2 separate regions of the Homo sapiens genome follow, and region 1 is linked to region 2. The links are contacts of gene promoters, found by promoter capture Hi-C in blood cells and fetal thymus (Javierre and others, 2016). All regions are on one chromosome and are shown on one strand. The core of a region is centred on a gene start or on the middle of the fragment in contact, and the rest is flanking DNA. Distances in the headings are between cores, read along the strand shown. Region 1 overlaps LINC01801 (long intergenic non-protein coding RNA 1801). Region 2 holds the start of ZNF30 (zinc finger protein 30).

Evidence for each region. Contacts are between HindIII fragments. The CHiCAGO score rates a contact against its expected background, and 5 or more counts as called.
Region 1: a contact is called between a fragment that was not itself captured here and the fragment with the promoter of ZNF30 in region 2, in 5 of 17 cell types (naive CD4 T cells, total CD8 T cells, non-activated CD4 T cells and 2 more). The highest score is 6.3, in naive CD4 T cells.

What each region holds. Positions count from the first base shown.
Region 1 is chr19:34,813,083-34,819,325 of GRCh38, reverse strand. It overlaps LINC01801 (long intergenic non-protein coding RNA 1801), which reads left to right. Exons shown (of 6, transcript NR_033982.1): 5 at 560-739; 6 at 1,836-3,172. Among named protein-coding and RNA genes, the nearest start is that of LINC01801, 17 kb to the left of the region's middle. The HindIII fragment of the contact is 211 bases long and covers 1,756-1,966 here.
Region 2 is chr19:34,921,938-34,928,466 of GRCh38, reverse strand. ZNF30 (zinc finger protein 30) reads right to left here and starts at 1,564. Exons shown (of 5, transcript NM_194325.3): 1 at 1,251-1,564. ZNF30-AS1 (ZNF30 antisense RNA 1) reads left to right here and starts at 1,641. Exons shown (of 3, transcript NR_110749.1): 1 at 1,641-1,738; 2 at 4,633-4,925; 3 at 5,416-5,452. The HindIII fragment of the contact is 20,354 bases long and covers 1-6,529 here.

The DNA of each region.
Region 1 (6,243 bases), core at 612-3,111, 110 kb after region 2:
CTTATCCTTTCACGATTCCTCATACTTTGTGGATAATGGACAAATGCCCCCTGATGGTATGTCTGTTTGTCCATGATCTGCACTTGCTGAACACAGCAGCCACATCTCCCAGCTTGGGTTTCACTCTCCAACCACATTTGATTACTTGCCTGGTGTCCCACAGGGTCATGATCTCTTTCTTCCTTGACTTTTAATTTAATTTAATTGAATTTAAAGTTCCAGGATACATGTGCAGGTTTGTTACACAGATTAGTCTTCCCTGACTTTTAGCATGCTATTTCTTTGACCCCCAAATAGCCTTTCTCTGCCTGGACACTTCTTCCTTCTTCTTTTTTTTATTATTTTTTATTTTTTCCATCTCTCTCACACCTAGTTTTATGTCCTTCTTACCTACTCCCGTATCGCCACCACTATCTTTCCAGGTGTAATATTTGGTTTATCTATCTGTCTCTCTCTGCTATACTGTAAATTGCTGGGCTGCAAGAGATAAATCTTTGAATTCTATATCACCAAGACCTAGCACTGTTTAATATAATACATTGACTCTTGAACAACACAGGTCTGAACTGCACAGATCCACTTACATGTGGATTTTCTTCCACTGCGGCCTCTCCTGAGACAGCAAGACCAACCCCTCCTTTTCATCCTCCTCCTCCTCCTCAGCCTACTCAACATGAAAATGACAAGGATGAAACCTTTATGATGATCCACTCATCCATTTTCTTTTCTCTAGCTTATTGTAAGTATGCTGTATATAATACATATAACATACAGAATGTGTTAACTGTTCATGTTATCAGTGAGGCCTCCAGTCAACAGTAGGCTACTAGTGGTTAAGTTTTGGGGAAGTCACAAGTCATGCAGACATTTTGGACTGCGTGGGGGAAGCAGCACCCCTTACCCCCACGCATTGTTCAAGGGACAACTGTAATCTGTAAGCAGCTGAAGGAAATGCTTGTACTTTATTTTTCTTTCCACCATCTTAAGATACCTTCATGGGTTGTAAAATACTTTAAAAAGATTGTATTTTCAGCACAGTACAACTCCAAGGTCAGCCAAGTCTGTGTGAAATTATAAATCTTGTGACGATATTTTTGTGGTTAGGACTCGAGATAGACCAGTTATTTTTCCAAATAGAACCTATCCTGCTATTTACCTTAAAAGATAATCATTTGTAATGTGTCAAAGCAACATGATACCAATATCTATGTAATCTATTACATCCTAACAGACTTAAATTTTTTTTAAATTACGGAGCAGTCATGCGTGAGTTCTTTCTTCCTTTTTTCCTCCAGGCCCAAAAGCCTGATTGCCAAGCCAATCATCCATAGGTGAAAGTGTGAATGTTGCTGGACGTGGTGGCTCACACCTGTTATCCCAACTCTTTGGGAGGCCAAGGCGGGAGGACCACTTGAGCCAAGTTTGAGACCAGGCTGGGCAACATGATGAGATCCCCATCTCTCCCCCACAACCCCCTGCAGCCAAAAAAAAAATTGTGAATGTGTGTGAATTACTGGCATACAACTAAATTAAACAAGCAAAAAAGACATTTAAACTCCATGTTCTAGATCCTGGGCCCTGGGCCACAGAAACTTTGCACAGTTAAGCCTGGCTCAACAATCATGGCTTATACAAGTCAGTATTTTCTCCATCATTGAGTTAGAGCAAAAACACATGAGCAGAGGAAACATGGCAGACATAGATAGCAGTGGGTGTCCTGACAGTTCCAAGACAGGAGGAAACCCCCCCAAAGCTTAGGTCTTCCAGGATAACACTGAAACTAGAGTGTAGTGTTGCACGGCTGATACTCACCCATCTCTCTCTTCTCTCCACAGGTGAACATCTTAGGCTAGTGTGTCGACTTCTGACTTGGCTCATCTGAACCCAAGTCCTTGGACACATTCACAAACACCCCAGGGTCTTGGGCTTCCAGTTTGTGCTAGAAGGACAAAGGGCAGGTGAAGCTTGTTTGCCGTAACTAGAAGGAGCAGAAACTGCTCCCAGCAGAACAAGATCAAATCATGGGGAACAGTGGTCACCTGCCATTTCTAGAGGAAGCTTTTGCTTTTGGTCACTGAGGACCCTAAGTCTTACATGAGAAGAAAACAAATAGGGTGATGCTGCATGCTTCTGTCCCCAAAGAATCCCTGTGCAGGTGCCGAGGGTGCCCCAAAGACGAGGCTGTGCTTGCCGTGCCCACCACAGAAGCACATTTGACCTGATCAAAAGCAGGTGGAAAAGGTCCTGAAGCACAGATATTTTCTCAGTGATGTTGTTTTCTCCAAAATGAAAGAGGGAAGGTACCCTGGCTTAGGCCCCTGGTGTTCTGATTGAAGGTGAGAATGGAAGTATCTTCTTCAACATGTTCTCCCATCTGACTGCAACAAGTGTGCTCCAGCCACCAGTGTCCCAGTTGCTCTGAATGATGGTGAGAAGGGTACCCAAACACTTGAATGGTACTGTACCCTCTACTTGCCATCTGAATCCTCACTTGTGGAACCCAGGCACTCTGGCTGTATTCGCGAGTAAGCATAGGTGTGGGACTGTGTCCTGCCATTGCACCATCTTTAATCTGGACTTGTGGACCTCAGGCTCTCTGACTATTCATGGACAGAAGTTTCTGCAGGCACAGGTGGGGTGCTGTTTCCTCCCATTGTACACCTGAATTCAGGACTTGTGGACCCCAGGTGTTCTGGCTGTGTTCATGAACAGAAGTGTCCCCCCCAAACAAACCCATATATGGTGCCATCTCCTCCCATTACAGGTATGGTGCCATCTCCTCCCATTGCAGGCATTGCACTGCCTATACTCTGGACTTATGGCCCTCACATGCTCTGATTGTATTCATAAACAGTAGTTTCTTCAGTCACAGATATGGCACCAGCCCCTCCAACAGAAACAGATGTGCTCAAGCTGAGTGGTCCAAAGGCGTTTGACAGAAGTCATGAACAGAAGTATCTTGGGGCACATGTTTCTTCTCTGTTGTGCAGGCTTCTCCAGCAGTAACAGGTTTGCCCAGGCCATATGGGCCCCAAGCGCTCTGACCAGACACAAGAAGAGAAGACTTGCAGTCACAGGTAGTGTGTTGTCCCCTGCTACTGCAACATAGGTGCTTGGAAAGGTGCAACAGGGTGCTCTGCTTGTGGTGGAAACATAAAGGCCTCCAAGCATAGATGTGCTGCTTTCTCCTTCCCTTTGAGGGATGCAGATGTGCTCTGGCCAGCTGCATTCCAGGTGGTCTGTCTGCAAGACAGAAGTGTCCCAAGCACTGGTATGTGCGGGCTCCTCCAACCACAACAGACGTGCTTTGGCCAGATGGTTTCCAGGTGTTATGAACACAAGAAGGAACAGAGGTGCCTTCTGGAACATGTTTCTTCTCAGTGATGTTCTAAGAGGTGTGCTTTGGCAGGACAGGCCCCAGCTGCTCTGACTGTAGGCAGGGAGGAAAGTGTTTCCCAGGAGTTTTTGCTTTCAGTAGTACTGCCCTCTCCAACTGTACCAGAGGTGCTGTAGGCTTGCAGGAACCCCGGTGCTCATGTGTAAGCCTCCCCAACATAAACTAAGGTGCTGCATGCCCCTCTAGGCCCTGTTCTAAAGCTGAGTGCTTCAGATGTGGAGCTGGGTCTGGGGCAGACACACTGGTCCTAGAGCTGTCATTATCCAAAGAAGCCCCAGAGTCCATGAATGGAAATGGGTCGAGAGAGGGGTTAGCAAAAGGTGAACTGTGCCTGATGCTGAGCATCCAGTGATGGCTCCAGAGCTAGAAGTAGTGGCTGTGCAAATGGGAAAAGGACCCGAGGTGCCACCCAAGGCTGAGTGGGTGCTAGCAGAGATATCAAAGATGGATATGGAGGTAACACGTACGCAAAATCTGATGGCATTATGCTCCCATTGGGTGTCTGGGCTGCAGTAAAGGCTCAGTTTAGAGCTTGTATTGAGATTTTACGTTTCTCAAAGGGTAAATGCTATCAAATACATTGGGGGATCCTGCCAGGGGGAGGCTAGAAAGAGGACATGGTAACCATATTGATTTCATCAGAGTTAAAGGCAGACTTGGCTGCCCAGTTGGTCAAGGTCCTAGCTACTAGAAAACAGACAATTGCTGAAGTAGTGATAAGTATGATGGTGCAGACAGGTATCCTAGAAGACTGACTCTTTGCTGCTGCCCTTTAGGAGCTCCAAATGTGACTGAGAGGTGGCTTCTGGGCTAAAGGAAAGGTTCAAAGTGGGGTAGGGCTGTTTACCATAAACATAGGTGGGTTAGTGGGGACTGCCTTTTGCAGGGGGCTGTCCACTCCACACTGCAATGAGCCAGTCAAATGGGAGTTCCAAGACCAGAGGAAACCTAGCCCAGAGCTTGAGTCTTCCAGGCTAACCCTGGGTCCTGGGGGGACCAGGAGATGAGACCCAGGGAATAGTAGTGTCCATGTCGGTCATCTCAAAGGTTCAAAGCAGGCTGGGAGGTCAAGTCTGCAGATGGGCTGACTGGGCAGTGGAAGTGATAAGGTTGGCCAGTTAATGATGGGTTGATATATTCATCTGTTTTCACACTGCTATGAAGAACTATGTGGGGCTGGGTAATTTATAAACAAAAGAGGTTTAATTAACTCACAGTTCCACATGGCTGGGAGGCCACAGGAAACTTACAATCATGGCAGAAGGCAAAGGGGAAGCAAGGCATGTCGTACTTGGTGGCAGGAGAGAGTGCAGAGGAAACTGCCACTTATAAACCGTCAGATCTCATGAGAATTCCCTCACTATCATGAGAACAGCATGGGGGAGACCACCCCTACAATCCAGTCACCTCCCACCAAGTCCCTCCCTCCACACATGGGAATTACAATTCAGATTACAATTCAAAATGAGATTTGGGTGGGGACATAGAGCCAAACCATATCAGTTAGTCAGTGAAGACTGAGGTATCTGTAGAAGTGAGGGAGGAGCACAGTGGTCTGGATGAACCAGTGGGGTGATAGTCAGGGGACTGGCATTCAGTGAGGCTGGGGGAGAAGCTTCCTAAAAGCATTGCCCTTGAAAAGCAGGGCATACCTATCTGATACTGAGGATGTAGAATGCAGTTTGGAGATGCTTCCTAGCTACCTAATCTTCCAAGGCAAACCATGCACTCTTCATCCTGATATTTGTGATGCCTCCCTGGGCTACATGACAGAGGGTGCACTGCAAAGGATGTGAAGGAAAGTCACCACAGGGCAAAGGTGGAAACCCAGGGGCCTTTCCCCAGTGAGACTTTCTGGCTGTTCCTTTGGAACTTCCACCTGCTAGTTGCAGATGTTTGCCACTGGATGGGGCCCCATGCTACGTGGGAACTGTTCAGGACTGTGGGTACTTAGTTCCAGCAGAGCTGGCTCCACCAGGGCACCAGGACTGCAGGCTTCTCAACTCCTGGCCTGGAGAGGCAGCTTCAGCAACCAGTGCCTGGGAATCCACTAGCCCTTTCTCTGTGAGTCACGTGAGGGCAGAATCTGCTCAAAGTCAGAGGGCTGGAGCAACCTGGATTGTGCCAGAGTGAGGGCCCAGCTCACTGGAGGTCAGAGTAAGAGAGTCAAGGATGGGAAGAAACAGGGTTTTGCTCAGTCTTGCAGATACTGAGGCACTCAGGAGGCTCAGGATGGCAGCAACAGGGCATGTGCTAAACTTACCCTAGCCTCTTCCTTTTAGGCAGCCACCACAGAGGACATCTGTTTGCCTCTGTACCCTACCCCATCTCCATGCTGGTAGATATAGTCTGGGGATACCTTTAAAACAAACAAACAAACAAACAAAACAGGATCTGTCTATCACCTGTCCAAATCCTGAAGCAAAATGAGCCTTCTTTATGGCCACCTTGGAAAGGCCTGAGTCCCCAGCATCACCTGGGATACAAAGTGTTCTGAGGTGGGGGCAGAGTGCCCTCCTGCCCAGATGCCACACTCCACAATATCTCTTCCTGGCAGACAGGTTTCTCTTAACTTCCTTTGGCAAATTTGGTTTCACTTCCTTTTGCAACTTTAGAACCTTTCTCAGGTCAGTCATAAGGTAGTGGAGAAGCCAGGATTTGAACCCATTCTGTCTGATTCCAGAGCTCATGCATTAACCACCTGACTGTGGTGCCTCCCCATCATATGTGCATCAAGTATGATCATTTTTGTAGTTCTCAGAGTACTTAGCACCATGCACATCTGTAATAAGTACAGCCACTGCCTACTGGGAGGTCTAAAGGTTCAACTCATAAGGGACCCACAG
Region 2 (6,529 bases), core at 315-2,814:
CCCTCTCTCTCAAAATATCTTATTGTACCAAAATCACCTATTTTCAGATCATGGTTGACTGAGGGTAACAAAGTGAAGAAAGTGAAACTGCCGATTAAGGGGGCACTACTGCATTGGAGTTATTACGTAAACATTATACATCCTTTATTTCATTTTAATTAAACACTTGTTTCCACTTAATTTAATTTATGTATCTATCTATCTATCTATCTATATATATATATATATATATATATATATATATATTTTTTTTTTTTTAGAGAAGGGATCTCGCTCTGTCGCCCAGGCTGGATTGCGGTGGTGCCATCTCCACTCACTGCAACCTCCGCCGCCTCCCAGCTTCAAGCACTTCTCCCACCTCCGCCTCTCAAGTAGCTGTGACTACAAGCGCACGCCACCATGCCTGGCTAATTTTTATATTTTTAGTAGAGACGGGGTTTCACCATGTTGCCATGTTGGTGGTCTCGAACTCCTGAGCTCAGGCAATCCACCCGCCTCAGCTTCCCAAAGTGCTGGGATTACAGGCATGAGCCATGGCACCCGACCTGTTTCCACTTTTTACTTAAAACGTAAGTTTCTCTGGCATGCTTTCTTTTAATTCTAACTAAAAAATTAAGAGCAACTCTTCTTTAAAAACAAACAAATAAAAAACCAACAGAAAAGATTCTCTGACATTTCAATTTCCTCTGTCCCCTAGCAGCTAGAGAGAGAGAGCTACTGCTGTGGGATAATGCAAAATTGAAGAACCTTAAGAAAAAGCTGGGTCCTATTTCTGTGCAATATGGAGATTGATGGAAATGTTTACAGCTGTCATCTTGCTCTCCTTTCTTACATAATTTTGTCATTAGTTAAGTAATCTGCACAACAGATCCTTTGAAGTCCTTTTCCCTGCACTGATAATTTTCAGATGACATTGCTCTCATCTTTAAAAGGTGTAAATACTTTATACAGTTTTTTCCAAACAAGAAGAGGCTTCCTGGCAATCCCATTTCTTCCCGCTGCATGCAAAAGGTATCATAACTATCGTTTCCTTTTTAAACTGAGAGTTGAAGAGTCTTTTGCTCCTTTACATAAATCAATTACAGTGATTTTATCCAAAATAGTAACAAATATTAATAGCTCAGGTTCGCATGGAGGCCATGCACCCAGTCTTCGCGGATGCACACCGGCCCCGGCCGACGCACCCTCCCTGCCCTGCCGCTCCCGCACTCGCCGGCCCGGGATCCTCGCCCGGTCCACCCAACGCTCACGCATGTCTCAGTCCGGGTTCCGCGCCGACACAGGTCTGCAGAGCTCCCGGTGCTGTGTTCGTTTGCAGAAATTCAAGTTGCCCGGCGGGGCTGCTCCAACCTCGGAGCTGGGCGCTGACTTCTCCCTCGATGAACTCCAAAGCTCGCTGCCGGGTCAACGACCACAATGAACTGGCGAGGAGGCAGAGATTGAGGTCGTTCCAGTGGCCGCTGAGAAATGTAGTTTCAGGCTACATTGGCCGGATAGCTGCAGCCTCTGGGAAATGCAGTCCTGAGCCGTCACACCGCCGAGCATGCCCGGCGCAGTCCACAAGGCCGCCCACCGGCGCCCGGAGACTTCTGGGCGCTCCCGTCCGGCTGAGAATGCGCAGGCGCAGGCGCTCGAGTTGCTGGGAGCCATAGACCTCGAAGCTGGGGCGTCTGACACCTGAGGCCCGAAGTAGGTGGCCAGCTTCTTAGAGGGCCAACCCAGGGCATTAACACACCAGGTCAGAAAAAGCAAAAACAAAAACAAACAAAAAATGATAATCTATACCAAAATATGTTATTACTTTAACACAAAAATATGAAAACTAGGTGTTTGAAATTATCTTTCCGTACTGTTTGCTTTTCGCTACAGAAATGCTATTATTTAACAGAATATTAATAGGATTAATAGTGGCAATTAGACTAATCACGTGTGAGAAAAATATATTTCTGTCCTCTGATACAGGAATTTTAAGTTTCTATTAAATATTTAAATTTTGTGGGTTCTATCTAAGATGCTAAATGTAAGACCTTTTAAAAGGAGAATGTAAATAAGGCTAATCAAACAGATATTAACTATATGTAATAGGCATTTATCTTTCTGTCCCATCATACGTTTAGGAGATATTTACTCTTTCTGGTTCCTTTTCCAGTAACACCTCTCTGTATTAGCTGCCTGTAGCCTTTATGGCATTCTTCTTTTGGTTTATGTAATGCTAAAACTGAATACAGGCAAACGTGAAATTCACCTTGACTGTCAGCTCCGCTTTTTGTTTGTTTTGTTTTTGTTTTGTTTTGAGACAGGGTCTCCCTCTGTCGCTCAGACTGGAATGCAGTGGCGCTATCTCGGCTTACTGTAACCTCTGCCTCCCAGGTTCAAGTGATTCTCCCACCTCGGCCTCCAGAGTAGCTGAGACTACAGGGGCGCGCCACTACACCTGGCTAATTTTTGTATATTTTTTGTAGAAATGGGGTTTTGCCATCTTGCCCAGGCTAGTCTCGAACTCCTGGGCTCAAGCGATCCACCCGCCTCAGCCTCCCAAAGTGCTGGGATGACAGGGTGAGCCACCGCGGCCAGCCGAGCTCTGTTCTTATTAAGCCCACATTACAGTGATTCCTGGAGTCAGTCCAGGGTGATGACATTGATAAGGAGGTGGGGAAGGGGAGTGCTGGGGAGGGAAGGGCGGGGTCCCTTTAAATGATATGGAAGGGGGAAAGGGAGGTGCTGGGTACAGGAGGGTGTGGTCCCTGGCTAGGGCTCCACCCCTGGCCCTGTGCCAACTGACCTAGGTGAGGGCAGGCATTTTTGTTTTCCTGCCCAAATGTTGCGTTTCCCAAGACCACCCTGGCCTGCCACGCCCCCATCCTGTTCCCGCCCCCATCCTGTCCCTATAAATACTCTGAGACCCTAGCAAGCAGACACACAAGCCGCTGGACATCCAGAGGAACATGTTGGCGGAAGAAGACATGACAGACGCTGGCACGCGGGCAGGCCACCCACCAGAAGGACGCGGAGTTTGGCTGGGGCAGTCCAAGGAGAGCCGGTGCTGCGGAGCAGCCCGATTCCAGGGGAAAACCATTTCCCTTCTGGCTCCCCCAACTGTTGAGAGCTACTTCCACTCAAAACCCTGCAGTCATCCTCCAAGCCCATGTGTGATCTGATTCTTCTGGTACACCAAGACAGGAACCCCGGGATATGAAAGCCCTCTGTCCTTGCGATAACGCAGGGATCTAATTGAATTGACTAACATAAGCCGCCTGCGGACAGCTAAAGAGCATCCTGTAACACGCCCACTGGGGCTTCAGCTATAAACATTCACCCCTAGACACTGCCATGGGGTCAGAGCCCCACAGCCCGCCCGTCTGTATACTCCCCTGGAGGTTTGAGCAGCGGGACACTGAAGAAGCGAGCCACACCCCCATCGCACGCCCTGCCAGGGGGACAAGGGAACTTTTCTCTTATCAACATCAACCTAAGTAGCCTCGCATCAAAAGCATTTGACTGTCAATAGTTAGGATTTTCCCTACCAGCAGTAGCAAGTTTTTAGCCTTATTGGAATTAGTTTCCAGCTCTGCAAAAATGTTCATCTGCTTTGTAACTCCAGGCTTTTTTGGTAGAGCAGCTGTTTGTTGACCAGTCGCTTTGCCTCTGTAAGTTCACCATATAGGCTATTCATGTCTAAAGTGTTCATTTTCAAACCCTCTGAAACTCATTGGGTATCTATTACAATGTCTGAAGACAAATATTTCATTAACAAATAAGAAGGTGATAGACCTGGAGTGAGAATCCACCCAATTCATGTCAATCGGAGACAAATTTGCAATATCCTGTGATTCCTGAACTGGCTGTGGTCACTGATCACTTCTGTCCTGGAGGAACTAGAGACATTCAAGACAAATAAGGACTCATCTAGTCCCCTGATTAAAGGACTTTTCATAGAGGCTGCATTAAGGGCCAAATTATGTACAATGTGCTCTCTGAGATGGGGATGTGTAAATAGCCGTCAAAATGTCATCTGGGCAGAAATTTGTTTGGGAGGATAAATTTATGTTCAGGGGTGAGGGGTGAATACAATAGAAATTTGTATTTTGCAGAGGGAAATGTGGGTTCCATGGTGGGTAGAAATAAAATAGATTAGTAGAATACTTAGAATGTCAAAGAAATTTTTAAATCATAGGGTTTTTTTTTTGAGAAAATTTTTGAAATGATTTTGAAATGATTTATTCAAAAAGTGCCCCTCAAAAGTGATCACTCCATAGATGACAGCTAAGGATCGCAATCTTACTGCTATGCCCTTGTGTTTTGAGTGAAGACTTGTGTGACTATAGTGAGGGTCTAGGTGTTTAATCGTCAGAGGTAAATTGGAGATTTCAGATGAGGCTGTCTCATGGAAGAGGGAGGAAGGATACTCACAAACCCTACAGCTGGAATCTGAGCATCCAGTGGAAAATGACAGTCCCTGATCCCTCAGGAAACTTTCTCTGGCCACTGTCAGTGATGTTCTAATCTAGGAGAGCAGAACTTTCCCCCTTATAATGTTTCTCACTGCATTTCCTGAAATATATTTCGTCTAAGTTCCATACGTTTATCTGAAAAGAATAACCACTTACCAAATTGTGTTTCCAACTAGGATAGTGGCCGCAGTTGTATTATCTTGTGCATTTGTCAAGAGAGGTCATCCGAACGCTGAGATAAAGGCTTGGGATTCCATTGTCTCATCTCTTTCTGGGAGTGATTTTCCTCTCATCTGGAAGTGCAGAGACAGAGTCTTCATAGGGAACTGAGATTACCTCCAAAAAACATTTGTGAAGTGAGCAATTCCTAGAAGGCTGTTAATGTTGATTAATGAAATTATACAAAAAGAATCATAAGATAGCTGGAGAAGAAAATTATCTGTGATGCCTGGAAAAGATACGTCCCAGTGGGAGGTAAGTACAGAATCCTGAGTTCTGAGATGTGAGGAATTCAGTTGAGGTAATGGTTCTACTATAATTGTGGCTACCATTAAATTTTTGTTTCTTCAAATTATGATTTATTTCTCTTCCTGATAACATTGAACAATCATAAATGTGGAGGGAAAGGAATCATTGAGGGTTGATTTAGAGAGAGTAAACAGGTGTAAAGCCATGGTTCCTGTGTGTTTTAACAAATACTAACTGAGCACCCGCCCTGTTGCAGATGCATTTCTAGATGTGTGAACAAAGAAATTTATCTACCTTAATTTGAATTGAGAGAAGCAGACAATAAATAATAAAGGAAATGTTATAAGTTACATAGTGACTTATAAGGTGTTATAAGTTATGTAACCTATGTTACATATATGTAACTTATGCTATAAGTTATGTTATAAGTTATGTTATATACAATATAACATAACAAGTTATGTTATATATGTTATGTTATAACTTATGTTGACAGTCCTCAGAAGGTCTCCCTCTCCCTCTCCCGTCTCCCTCTCCCTCTCTTTCCACGGTCTCCCTCTGATGCCGAGCCGAAGCTGGACTGTACTGCTGCCATCTCGGCTCACTGCAACCTCCCTGCCTGATTCTCCTGCCTCAGCCTGCCGAGTGCCTGCGATTGCAGGTGCGTGCCGCCATGCCTGACTGGTTTTCGTATTTTTTTGGTGGAGACGGGGTTTCGCTGTGTTGGCTGGGCTGGTCTCCAGCTCCTAACCGCGAGTGATCCGCCAGCCTCGGCCTCCCGAGGTGCCGGGATTGCAGACGGAGTCTCGTTCACTCAGTGCTCAATGGTGCCCAGGCTGGAGTGCAGTGGCGTGATCTCGGCTCGCTACAACCTCCACCTCCCAGCCACCTGCCTTGGCCTCCCAAAGTGCCGAGATTGCAGCCTCTGCCCGGCCGCCACCCCGTCTGGGAAGTGAGGAGCGTCTCTGCCTGGCCGCCCATCGTCTGGGATGTGAGGAGCCCCTCTGCCCGGCCGCCCATCATCTGGGATGTGAGGAGCCCCTCTGCCCGGCTGCCCAGTCTGGAAAGTGAGGAGCGTCTCTGCCCGGCCGCCATCCCATCTAGGAAGTGAGGAGCGCCTCTTCCCGGCCGCCATCCCATCTAGGAAGTGAGGAGTGTCTCTGCCCGGCTGCCCATCGTCTGAGATGTGGGGAGCGCCTCTGCCCTGCCGCCCCGTCCGGGATGTGAGGAGCGTCTCTGCCCGGCCGCCCCGTCTGAGAAGTGAGGAGACCCTCTGCCTGGCAACCGCCCCGTCTGAAAAGTGAGGAGCCCCTCCGCCCGGCAGCCGCCCCGTCTGAGAAGTGAGGAGCCCCTCCGCCCGGCAGCCACCCCGTCTGGGAAGTGAGGAGCGTCTCCGCCTGGCAGCCACCCCGTCCGGGAGGGAGGTGGGGGGGGTCAGTCCCCCGCCCGGCCAGCCGCCCCGTCCGGGAGGGAGGTGGGGGGGTCAGCCCCCTGCCCGGCCAGCCGCCCCATCCGGGAGGTGAGGGGCGCCTCTGCCCGGCCGCCCCTACTGGGAAGTAAGGAGCTCCTCTGCCCGGCCACCACCCCGTCTGGGAGGTGTACCCAACAGC